Regions from separate parts of the Homo sapiens genome. Here all the other regions are linked to region 3. The links are contacts of gene promoters, found by promoter capture Hi-C in blood cells and fetal thymus (Javierre and others, 2016). All regions are on one chromosome and are shown on one strand. Each heading gives the region's core, a stretch centred on a gene start or on the middle of the fragment in contact. The rest is flanking DNA. Distances are from core to core; before and after follow the strand shown.

Region 1 (2,729 bases), core at 134-2,633, 610 kb after region 3:
AAGTTACTTCTCCTTCACGGTCCACAGAGAAGGGGTAATAATATTTGTCCCCAAGGGTGGTTTGTGGATTTTAAAAAATAAGTTAAATAATATTGCCCATACATTATAGGTACTCCATACATTTTCATTCGTTCGTTCATTCGTTAGTTGGGCCGGGAGGATGAATGGGATCTAGAGGCAGGTGGGAATGCGGAAGGGGATGATGCCCCAATACCGAGAACAATGTGAGACTCAGACGGAGGCAGGGGCGGGAGGGGAGCTCAAGCGAGGGATCAGCGTGAAGCCAGAGAAACAACCGACACTTTTCCTGCCAAGAAGGTGAAGCAGCTGCGGGTAAGAGTATAGGTTTGGCAGTGGGAAGTCGAGGGCGTTCCCGTCGAAGCTCCTTTTGTGTATAAGGCCTAAGAAGGGGCAGTGCGCTTTGCGAAGGTCTGAAAAAGACTAAGGGGATTAGGTAACGACTGAAAGGAAGTTTTCACAACTCTCCGTTTTTGGGGGATGGGTGCTGCTTTATCCGTCCAGGACTCCGTGCGTTGGGAAAATCACGCCGCGAGGGGGCGCAAGAGCCGCGTACTCCAGAGCAAGAAGAAAAGGCTCGGGGATCCAGGCGGAGAGTCCAGGAGAAGAGCCGCCAGACTGCAGGGGCAGGTGGAAGGCGTGGCAGCTGGAAAAGTAGGGGTGGGGGCGCGGTCGTGAAGGGTGGGACTTCTGGAGCAACGCTGGGCGGGTTGGGGGCCGGTCGGAGCCGGACAGGCGGCTGGGAGGTGGGATGGGCGGGGCGCTTGGGAGCGAGATGGGGGGACAAGGGCGTGGCTACAGCTAAATTCGCCGCAGAGGGCGGGCGGGGAGGGGGAGGGAAGGGGAGGAGGCGTGGCCTGGGCGGGGAGTAGGGCGCGACGGACCCTTCAGTTAGCCCGCGGCTCCCCGGGCTCTCCCTGGCGCCGAGTCCCACCCCTTTCCCGGCCCAGAGAGTGTGCGTCTGCGTGCACCTGAGTGTCAGTGTGTACGAGAGTTTGTGAGTCCGAGGTTGCCATGTTGGAGCCCCTGGGCAGGAGGTGTTTCCGCGCGGAGGCTGGTGGCCCGCGGTGGACGCGGCGCCCTGGCTGCGAGTCTGCGGAGCTGAGCACGCTCAGCGGTTGTGTGTGTCTCAGCGACTCCCTGGGGGCAGCTCGGCCTGCTGGGCTCCCGAGGGACCTCTCTGGAGGGCCAGAGGGTCGCCTCAGTCTGCAAGTCCTCCAGCAGGCTTTTTCTTCTTCGGCTCCTCCCTGATTCCCTCCCACCACGCGGTTCCCAGGCTCGCGCACGCCCGGAGCCCACCCCCTCTTTTGGGCGCGAGGCCCCGCCCCCCGCCCCCTTGCCTCTGCCGCAAAGTTTATTTGCAACAAAAGGGTGCCAGGAGCGAGCAGCCAAGGGCGTTGGGCAGGCGGACGCAGAGTCGAGGAACCAAGCGCTGGGATCCCGCCCAGGCGGTGCCGCGGTGCCCCTGGTCGCTCCAGCCGCGGCGGGGGCTGGGCCTGGGGGTCGGCGCTGAGGCGGGAGGGGCCGCCCGGGATGGAGACGTTGCGGCCGGTGGCCACAGAAACTTGAGCCGCGGCAGAGAAACCTCTGCTCCGGTCTCTGCGTCCTCTTCCCACACTCCCGTGCGCTGCTTTCGGCGTGGGCCGCTGCGCTCCTAGGGAGTGGGGGCGCAGGGGGGGTTGGCCGCGGCTGCCCGAGGCCAGCCCCCCCGGAGTGAGTTACGCCACTATGGCGGACGGGGCACCCCGGCCCCAGCTTTACCGCAGCGTCTCGTTCAAGCTGCTGGAGCGCTGGAGCGGCGGCCCCGGGCTGAGGGAGGAGGACACGGACACCCCCGGCTTGAGGCGACGCGCCTCGTGCCGGCCGACCACGGCTGCCCGGGGCCAGCCCTCTCGGCGCGTGTCCAAGCTGGCGTCTGGGCCCCTGGCCGCCCCCGCGCAGCCGCGCCCGCTCCGCAGCCTCTCGCCGTCGGTTCGCCAGCTCTCCCGGCGCTTCGACGCGCCGCGTCTGGACGACGGCTCCGCTGGGACCCGAGACGGAGGCGTCTTACCCGCGGCCGCGGAAGAAGCGGCCGAGGGCCCAGCGCGAGGAGCCTGGCCCAGCGTCACCGAGATGCGCAAGCTCTTCGGCGGTCCTGGCTCCAGGAGGCCCAGCGCCGACTCTGAATCCCCAGGAACGCCCAGCCCCGACGGTGCCGCGTGGGAGCCTCCGGCTCGGGAGTCGCGGCAGCCACCGACGCCACCCCCTCGGACATGCTTCCCCCTGGCGGGTCTGCGTTCGGCGCGGCCCCTGACCGGGCCGGAGACCGAAGGGAGGCTGCGCCGGCCGCAGCAGCAACAGGAGCGGGCGCAGCGTCCAGCGGATGGTTTACATTCTTGGCATATCTTCTCCCAACCGCAGGCCGGGGCCCGGGCCTCCTGCTCCTCCTCCTCCATCGCCGCCTCCTATCCTGTCAGCCGCAGTCGTGCTGCCAGCTCCAGCGAGGAGGAAGAGGAGGGCCCGCCGCAGCTGCCTGGAGCCCAGAGTCCGGCCTACCACGGCGGCCACTCCTCGGGCAGTGACGACGACCGAGACGGTGAGGGCGGCCACCGCTGGGGAGGGAGGCCCGGGCTCAGGCCTGGAAGCTCCCTATTGGATCAGGACTGCAGGCCTGACAGTGATGGGTTAAATCTAAGCAGCATGAACTCAGCAGGGGTTTCTGGGAGCCCTGA
Region 2 (2,791 bases), core at 244-2,743, 590 kb after region 3:
CACACACACGGCCAGGCAGAAGCAGCCCCAGGGCTGGCTTAAAGGCCTTTGGTGCTCACGTTTAATCTCTATCTGCTCCCAATCCCCAATAAACACATACTCTTAAGTACAAACTACAGCTTGCTACATGAATAGCCTCAAGCCAAGACCCCCGTGCACCCAGTCCTCTCTGTGTAGACATAATTGAACCACGTCTGGAATTTATTTGTTCATTCACTCAACAAATATTTATTGAGAACCTACTATATGCCAGACACCGTCCTAAGTACATGCAGCAGTGAAAAAAAAACACGAAAACCCCTGCCCTGGTGGAGTTTATGTTCAGTCATGAGAGAGAGACAATAACCAATAAATAAGTAGAACAGTGTATTAAAAGATTTTAAATGCTAAGGAGAAAAATATAGCAGAGAAGGGGCGTAGGAATCACACATGCACATGCGTTGCGTAGGGGTTTATAATTTTAGCTTAGAGTGGTAGGAGAAGGTCCCATGGAGAAGGTATCATTCGAGTGACCACCTGAGGGGGTCTGTCCTACGTCCCTTTTTTGAGACAGGGTCTCGCTCTGTAGCCAAGGCTGGAATGCAGTGGTGTGATCATAGCTCACTGCAGCCTTGGCCTCCCAGGCTCAAGCGATTTTCCCACCTCAGCCTCCCAAGTAGCTGGGGTTACAGGCACACGCCAACACATCCAGTTAATTTTTAAACATTTTTTGGTAGAGACAGGCTTTCTCTATGTTGCCCAGCCTGGTCTCGAACTTCTGGGCTCAAGTGATCCTCCCGCCTTGGCCTCCCAAAGTGCTGAGATTCCAGGCGTGAGCCACCACACCCGGCCTGTCCTGTGTTCTTCATGCACACTCCACAGCAGGAGCCACTGTTGCCTGCTGACCTCCTACATTGCACTCTGAATGAGGTAGTTGCCCCTTACTTTGATCTCTTCCTCCCAGGCCACCCCTTGGACACCCACAAAGTCCTCTTCCTCCCACACTGGACTGGCCACAAACAGGCCAGTTTGAGGGTGAAGATTTGGGGTTTGGCGACAGGCAGTCCTGCTGATTGGAAGATCACTGACGGATTGGTGGCCCTGGCAAGTAACTAAGCTGTTGGGGGCCTTAGTTTCCTCCTCCCAAAAGAAGAGACTATGCCCCCCTTACAGGCCCCAGGCAGGCAATGAAACAGGACAGAGGGTAGCAAAGGGTTTTGTCTTCAGGTTTGAAAACAGCCACAGACCACGGCCTCATCCTTGAGGATCCACCACTAGGTCTCCTGGGACCTGGACATGTGCCTGAAATTGCCTGGTGAGAATGAAGACCAATAGATGGATGGTCTTGGGACAACCTCTGCAGGGTGTCCTGGGGCAGCCAAGCTATATGGCCCCAGAGGCAAGCTGGACTGGTGTGGGAGAGCAGTCACTAGGGACAGATCTTGGGGCTTGGTGTGACAAAGCATATCTCCCAGTGAGCTTTCTCAAGGTGGAATGCAGTGGCCTAGGAGAGGAGTGAGCTCCCTGCAATGGGAAGTATGCAGGCAGGGGCCAAACAAGCCCAGTCAGGGAGGCTTCAGAGAGCCCCCTTCTCTGAGGGGATGATGGGGAGACCTCTGGGTCAGGTGACCTTAAGGCCTCCCTAGCCCTGAGGGTCCAGAACTCAGAGGCCTGTCATTGACCCCTGGGTCCAGCTGGACGTCTTATCACTGCCAGGTGGGCTCAGGCCCCAGGAAGAGCTAGGGATGATCAGAACAGGAATCAAGGCAGGGGCTGCCTTTCACGGGAGGGGAGGAGTTCCCTGAGGCTCCCCTTCCACACCCAAACCTTACCTGTACGAGTTGTGGACAAAACTGCCTACCTTCGGGCCTCAGGGTCTGCCTGGGAAATGGGCAGGATCATAACCCACAATAACCACTTGGCGGGGTTAGTGGTCTGCCTTTCCTGAGGTGGGGACTGGGGGACCCAAGCAGTCTCAGAGGTGCTACTCCTGAACCCATTACCTTCATTCTCCTTGACAAATCTTCTCTGTCATCAGTCAAGACAAAGATTTAAAAAAAAAAAAAAAATGGAACCAGGCAGCACCGAGGACAGAGCCCCGGCGCTCATCTTTATAGACTGGATCCAGTCATCCAACATTTCCCAGTGCCTCTTGGGCCAAAGCCTATACTGGTCTCTGAGGCTCCAGAGGCAAAGCAGACCTTGTCCCCTGTTCCTAGCAGAGTTAGAGAAGGAAAGGGAGGGAGTCTGACACCGCCCCTTCGACTGGTCTTCTTCTCTGCCCTGACTCTTGACCTCCATTTCTTTGTCCTTTCTTAAGCCACTCTTCCTGAGAGACAGGGTATCATGGTGGATTTATAGTGCACTTTGGGCAAGTTCCTAACCTCTCTGGCCTCAGTTTTCTCGTAGGGAAATGTCACCTGTCTTCCTGGGCACAAGGTGCAGATCTACAGGCAGGACTCCTAGTTTCAAGTGACAGAATCCTAGGTTAAATGGATTGAGGCAAAAAGGGAGTTTATCAGCTCATGACACCAAAGGTAAAACCTCAGGCACAGCTGAAACCAGGCACTCAATGCTGTTCTCAGGAAACGATGCATCCCCATCTCTCATCTCTGCCATTCCTTGGCTTTCTATGTGGATAGTCTCCTCCCTGGTGGCAGTATCTCCGTCGCCCAGGACAATGCCTGGAACTTAGTTCACTTGGCTCCAGCAGCTCCTGCCTCACTTTCTACTAACTTTGCAAATATTGTGGAAGACCTGTCTCCTTCCTGATGCCCCAGTAAAAGCGCCAGAATTGACTCTGAGGCATGCA
Region 3 (2,700 bases), core at 171-2,670:
CCAAACAGGTACAGCCGTTCTCCCTCCGTGTACACCTCAAAGGTGTGCTCAAAGCTGCAAATACACAGGCCAGGACTCAGGCCCACCTCATCCAGCACGGGCCCACCCCCAACCCGCACCATCAACCGCCATCCTCTGCCCCCTCCGCACTGCCTTGGCGCTTGTCCTTATTCTGGTCCCCTAAGAGGTGGTGGAAAAGTCTTGGGCTGGGGCCTCAAGAGACTGGAGTCGGCCCTTGTGCAGCCTCCGTTTGCTGTGTGACTCTGCGGAGGTCCTCCCCTTCTCTGGGTCTATTTCCCTGTCTCCCCAGTGGGGGATTGTACCTTATAGCAACCACAGTCTGATTTGCCCAGGAGTACTCACCCATGGGTGTCAGGAGGGGGCACTGCCAGGCACACAATCTCGCTGGCCCGAATCTCTCCATTGGGGGTCACTGCCCGCTCATTCTCAAAGTAGCTCAGGACCCCGTCACCAAGGACACACCAGCGCCGGCTGAACTCTGGGGAGAATTTGGGCAGGGGAGCCATCAGGGAGCCCCCCACCACCTGAAAACCACCTCTGCATCCTCCCGGGGCTCCTGCTCCCATCTGACCCATGAGCTCTTCATTCTCTCAAGTTTTCCCTAAATCCATCCACCTCTCTGCATCCCCACCACGCTAGCCAGCCCACAAGTCATCCGCTCCCCCAGGCCTCTGCAGCAGCCCCTTCCAAAATCCCAGAGTGATCTAGCTAAAATCAGACCCCATCCTTCCTCTAACCAAAACCATTCCATGGTCCTCAGGACAGACTCTGTGCCCCTCAGCCTGCCATTCAAGGCCCTGCCAGGTCTACCCCTGCCCGTCTCTCCAGCTGCCTCTCTGTCACTCCTGGACACACACATCCCTACCCAGCACTCCCAGCTTTTGCAAACCTTGTCCCCTCTACCCACCACCTGAATGTCACAGGAAGCCTTCTATGCCCCAACCTCCTTTTCCAGAAGCATCTATCACTCTGTACTCTGCCTCCTGCTACAATGGCTCTGAAGGACTGGCAAGGTCCCATAAAAGAAACAGAAATGGGAATCTGGACCAGGAAAGGTAATGGAAAGGATAGGCTGTCATGGCCATGCAGGCTTGTACCGTTCACAGCACTGAGCTTTACAGTGGCTCAGAGCTTCCTGGCATCCAGGGCAAAAAGGATGACTCAGGCAGTTGTTACATAAATGACATTGTCAGGCAGAGGGAGGCAGACCTGGGGCAATGAGGTTGTGAACAGCATGGAGTTCCAAAGAAATCTCTTTGGGAGTTGGAGGGCTTTGTCCCCGTAGGAAAGCATGCAGGAGGTGCTGAGGGATGTTGTCAGCAATGACCTCACAATGTTCCCACAGCAGACTCTGTCTCTCATCCTGTCTGTGAGGGCCTGACATGTGCTCTTTGAGAGCAATGTGTCCTCAGGCCTGTCCCCGCAGGTGGGCTCCCTCCAGGAGCACCAGCTCTGCCTGAGTCATCCTTCATTCTGCAGGTATTTGCCAAGTGCCCACTGTGTGCTAGCCACTGTTCTAGGATCTGGGGGCTACAGGCAGTGGTGGCCAAAAGGAGTTTATGTCCCAGTGGGGTACAGAGAATCTATAGATAAGTACATTAATGGACAAATGAGTACCAGGTAAGTGGTGTGAAGAAAATGCAGGGTAGCCAGGCGTGGTGACTCACGCCTGTAATCCCAGTACTTTGGGAGGCCAAGGCGGGCAGATCACCTGAGGTCGGGAGTTTGAGACCAACCTGACCAACATGGTGAAACCCCATCTCTACTAACTAAATTAGCCAGGCATGATGGCGCATGCCTGTAATCCCAGCTACTCGGGAGGCTGAGGCAGGAGAATTGCTTGAACCCGGGAGGCAGAGGTTGCGGTGAGCCAAGATCGCGCCATTGCACTCCAGCCTGGGCAACAAGAGCGAAACTCCATCTCAAAAGGGTAAAGGGAGAGATGGGGGGTGCTATTTTGCATAAGGTAGTCAGAGATGACATCTCTGCAGGAGTGATACTGAAACAGAGACCTGACGGAAGTGAGGGACTGGCCATGCAGATACCTGGGGGAATGCATTTCAGGCAGAGGGAACAGCACAGGCAAAGATCCTGGTAGGTGACGACGTGTCTGAGAAACAGTGAGGAGACCGGCAGAGTGATTAGGGGGGTGGTTCAGAGAGGTAATGGGGGTGGTGGCCAACTGTGCGGGCTCTTGTGGATTTTCTTCTGAGTTGGGGAGTGAATGGAAGGCTGAGATCAGATGGATAGGGCTTTCGTTCAGTCCTCAAACTCCCTACCAGCCACAGGCTCTTACTACCAGATGCTCAGCAGAGCCCATATCCAGTAGGGGCTCAATAAAGGCTCATTTAGTCCAAAGAAACTCTGGCACTGACCTGCTCTGCAGTGTCATGCACTACCCCCACTCCCACCAGGATCATTTAGGAAGTACCTACTGTGTACCACAGACTATATCCAGGAAGCCCTCTAGGGTGACTCTGCCAGAGTCCACCAGTCTGGCCAGCCCTGGCTTCCCTAGCCCTGCAGCCGTGACCAGATGCCATGGGCTAAAGCAGAGTCTGGGGTGGCACCCACCTTCCCGGGCCCGGCGGTCCTGTAGCAGCTTGCCGGCAGAGGCAGTCTTGTAGAGGAAGCCACTGTGGCTCACGGTCGGCAGGACAACTGAGTAGTGCTTTTCCA
Region 4 (2,700 bases), core at 58-2,557, 560 kb after region 3:
CCCTGCTCTAGGGCTGGGTGGGCTGGGGGTCCCTCAGAGCTCCTATGTATCTTCATGTCTCTCTGGCCCAATGCCCACCAGGTTCTGGTCTGTTCTCCTCCACACTGGGCATTTCTGAAGGACACTAGCCATGAACAACTCATCTTTTTTCTTCCCCGGGCCTAGGCACATAGCAGGTGTCAGAGAATAAATGAGTGATGATGATGACTTTAAATCTCCAAAGAATTATGCCCTGGAAAAACTCCTTGGCTGGTGGAGGAGAAGTGTGAAGAAAAACAACACCAGGCCAGAGTGATCAGGGTGTTACAAAGGCCAACACTTGGACTTGGGAGCCCAGAGGAGGCCTCAGCCCTGACTGGCAGAGAGGTAGCCAGAGAAGGCTTTGGAGGGGAGGTGGCTCCTCTGTGTGCTGGCCCTGCCCATCCTCTTTGTCTTTGCAGAGTGTGCTAGGGAGCTGGGGAGTCAGGAGGGAAATAGAAAGCAGCATAGATCCCACACAATCTCACCCCTTCCTTTTCCTCAAAGGTGACCTCTACCCTGGTGGTCATTCTTACACATGCCTTTGTATGATTTCTACATTATTGTATAGAAATATACAATAATTAAAACTTTATGTGCATAGTCTCATACTGTGTGTATCCTATATATTTCTTTTTTGGTCACATTATGCTTGTGTGATTTTAGCCTTCTTGATGTGGTTGCTCAAGTTTATTTTTTGTCTGCTATATAGTATTCCATTTAAGAACATACAGTCACTTTTACTGTTAGAATATAATTCATTCCTATAATCCCAGCACTTTGGGAGGCCAAGGCAGGTGGATCACGAGGTCAAGAGATCAAGACCATCCTGGCCAACATGGTGAAACCCCATCTCTACTAAAAATACAAAAATTAGCTGGGCACGGTGGCGCGTGCCTGCAGTTCCAGCTACTTGGGAGGCTGAGGCAGGAGAATCGCTTGAATCCAGGAGGCAGAGGTTGCAGTGAGCCGAGATTGTGCCACTGCACTCCAGCCTGGTGACAGAGCGAGACTCTGACAAAAAAAAAAAAAAAGAATATAATTTATTTCTGATAACAAATTTGTGAATAGTGAAAGCTTATATTCCCAGAAATTTAAAAAGGAAAAATGTGTCACCAGCTCATCCTAAGACCCTAATTTTCCCCAAATGCCATTAAAATTTTTAAAACTATTAACACTCAGCAATGATTTCTGCACAGTATAAAACTACACTATCAAATATGATATCTGTTAGTCACATAAGGCTATTTACATTTAAACGTAAATTAATTTGGAGTTAAAAATTCCATTCCTCCGTTGCCCTAGACACATTTCTACATGTGGCCAGAGGCTACCCTACTGGACAGCAGATATAGGATATTTCCATCATCACCAAAAGTTCTAAAGCATTTAAAATACTGACTACTTCATTATCTAATAATGAATGTGCTGCATTTTCTCACTCACAGAAGCGCTCCCACATATGGTGGGTGAGGATGAGTCTCACATCTCTCACATAAGCCAAGCTTACATCTTTCACTGTCCAGCCCTCCCAATGAGCTTTGTTACATCCACATTTTCTTCTAATAATAAATAGGCTTTTCTAGGTCTTTCAGGCTCAACTACTTTCTTCTCAGGCCTTTCCACTTTCTTAGAAGACAACTATACTTAATAATGAAGGGAAGAGGCTGGCATGGTGGCTAACGCCTGTAATCTCAGCACTTTAGGAGGCTGAAGCGGGTGGATCGCCTGAGGTCAGGAGTTTGAGACTAGCCTGGCCAACATGGTGAAACCCCGTCTCTACTAAAAATACAAAAATTAGCCGACGTGGTGGTGGGCACCTGTAATCCCAGCTACTTGGGAGGCTGAGGCAGGAGAATCACTTCAACCCAGGAGGCGGAGGTTGCAGTGAGCCGAGATCATGCCACTGCACTCCAGCCTGGGCAACAGAGACAGACTCCATCTCAAAAAATAAATAAATAAATAAATAAATAAAAATAAAAAGATACAGTGCTGTGATGTACATCTTTATACATGTGCAGGGGTTTCTCCTGATTATATGCCTTGAAGTGGAATGGTTCAGTTTTAAGCTATGCATTTTCACTTTTCCTAGATATTGACAGATTGTTCTTCAACTTGGTTGTGTTCCCAGCAGTATGTAAAAATTCCTGCCAATTCAAACAAAGTGCGTTTGGTTTCAACCAAATAATTGGTTTCAACGTTTGCTGAATAACCAATTATTGGTTGAAGCCAAGCCAATTTTGTTTTAATTGAGTAGAATCAGCAGAATCAGGAGCACTTCTGTATGTGAGAAAACGCAGCACATTCAGTGTTAGATAATGAAGTAGTCAGTGTTTTAAATGCTTTAGAACTTCCTGTGATGACGGAAATATCCTATATCTGCTGTCCAGTAGGGTACCCTCTGGCCACATGTAGAAGTGTGTCTAGGGCAATGGAGGAATGGAATTGGTTTCAACCAAACCAATTATCAAACTTTAAAAAGTTTGATAATCAGATATGCATGAAATGGTATCATTTCATTTGGTTTTAATTTAGATTTCCCTGGTTGATAGTCAGGTTGAACATATTTTCTTATGTGTATTGGCCATAATTGCTTTCTTTTCTGTGAAATGCCTGTTCATGTCTTTCAATCATTTTTCTGTTAGGTTGTTTAGCTTTTTCCTATTGACGTATAGGAGTTAT

Evidence for each region. Contacts are between HindIII fragments. The CHiCAGO score rates a contact against its expected background, and 5 or more counts as called.
Region 1: the fragment with the promoter of ARHGEF17 here is called in contact with the fragment with the promoter of ARAP1-AS2 in region 3 in 1 of 17 cell types (neutrophils); the score reaches 5.9 in neutrophils.
Region 2: a fragment that was not itself captured here is called in contact with the fragment with the promoter of ARAP1-AS2 in region 3 in 1 of 17 cell types (neutrophils); the score reaches 7.1 in neutrophils.
Region 4: a fragment that was not itself captured here is called in contact with the fragment with the promoter of ARAP1-AS2 in region 3 in 1 of 17 cell types (endothelial precursors); the score reaches 5.3 in endothelial precursors.

What each region holds. Positions count from the first base shown.
Region 1 is chr11:73,306,893-73,309,621 of GRCh38, forward strand. ARHGEF17 (Rho guanine nucleotide exchange factor 17) reads left to right here and starts at 1,384. Exons shown (of 21, transcript NM_014786.4): 1 at 1,384-2,729. The coding sequence starts at 1,747. ARHGEF17-AS1 (ARHGEF17 antisense RNA 1) reads right to left here and starts at 2,469. Exons shown (of 3, transcript NR_147696.1): 1 at 1,780-2,469; 2 at 990-1,672; 3 at 619-664. RefSeq lists silencers at 756-895, 1,296-1,625, 1,856-2,075 and enhancers at 1,496-2,373, 2,379-2,729. The HindIII fragment of the contact is 10,810 bases long and covers 1-2,729 here.
Region 2 is chr11:73,284,543-73,287,333 of GRCh38, forward strand. All of the region lies in intron 1 of P2RY6 (pyrimidinergic receptor P2Y6), which reads left to right. Among named protein-coding and RNA genes, the nearest start is that of P2RY6, 14 kb to the left of the region's middle. The HindIII fragment of the contact is 4,518 bases long and covers 1-2,791 here.
Region 3 is chr11:72,699,054-72,701,753 of GRCh38, forward strand. It overlaps ARAP1-AS2 (ARAP1 antisense RNA 2), which reads left to right and starts at 1,421. Exons shown (of 2, transcript NR_146780.1): 1 at 1,421-1,500. It overlaps ARAP1 (ArfGAP with RhoGAP domain, ankyrin repeat and PH domain 1), which reads right to left. Exons shown (of 35, transcript NM_001040118.3): 16 at 2,596-2,700; 17 at 364-499; 18 at 1-54. RefSeq lists a silencer at 1,967-2,066. The HindIII fragment of the contact is 37,247 bases long and covers 1-2,700 here.
Region 4 is chr11:73,259,911-73,262,610 of GRCh38, forward strand. No RefSeq gene overlaps it. Among named protein-coding and RNA genes, the nearest start is that of P2RY6, 11 kb to the right of the region's middle. The HindIII fragment of the contact is 428 bases long and covers 1,094-1,521 here.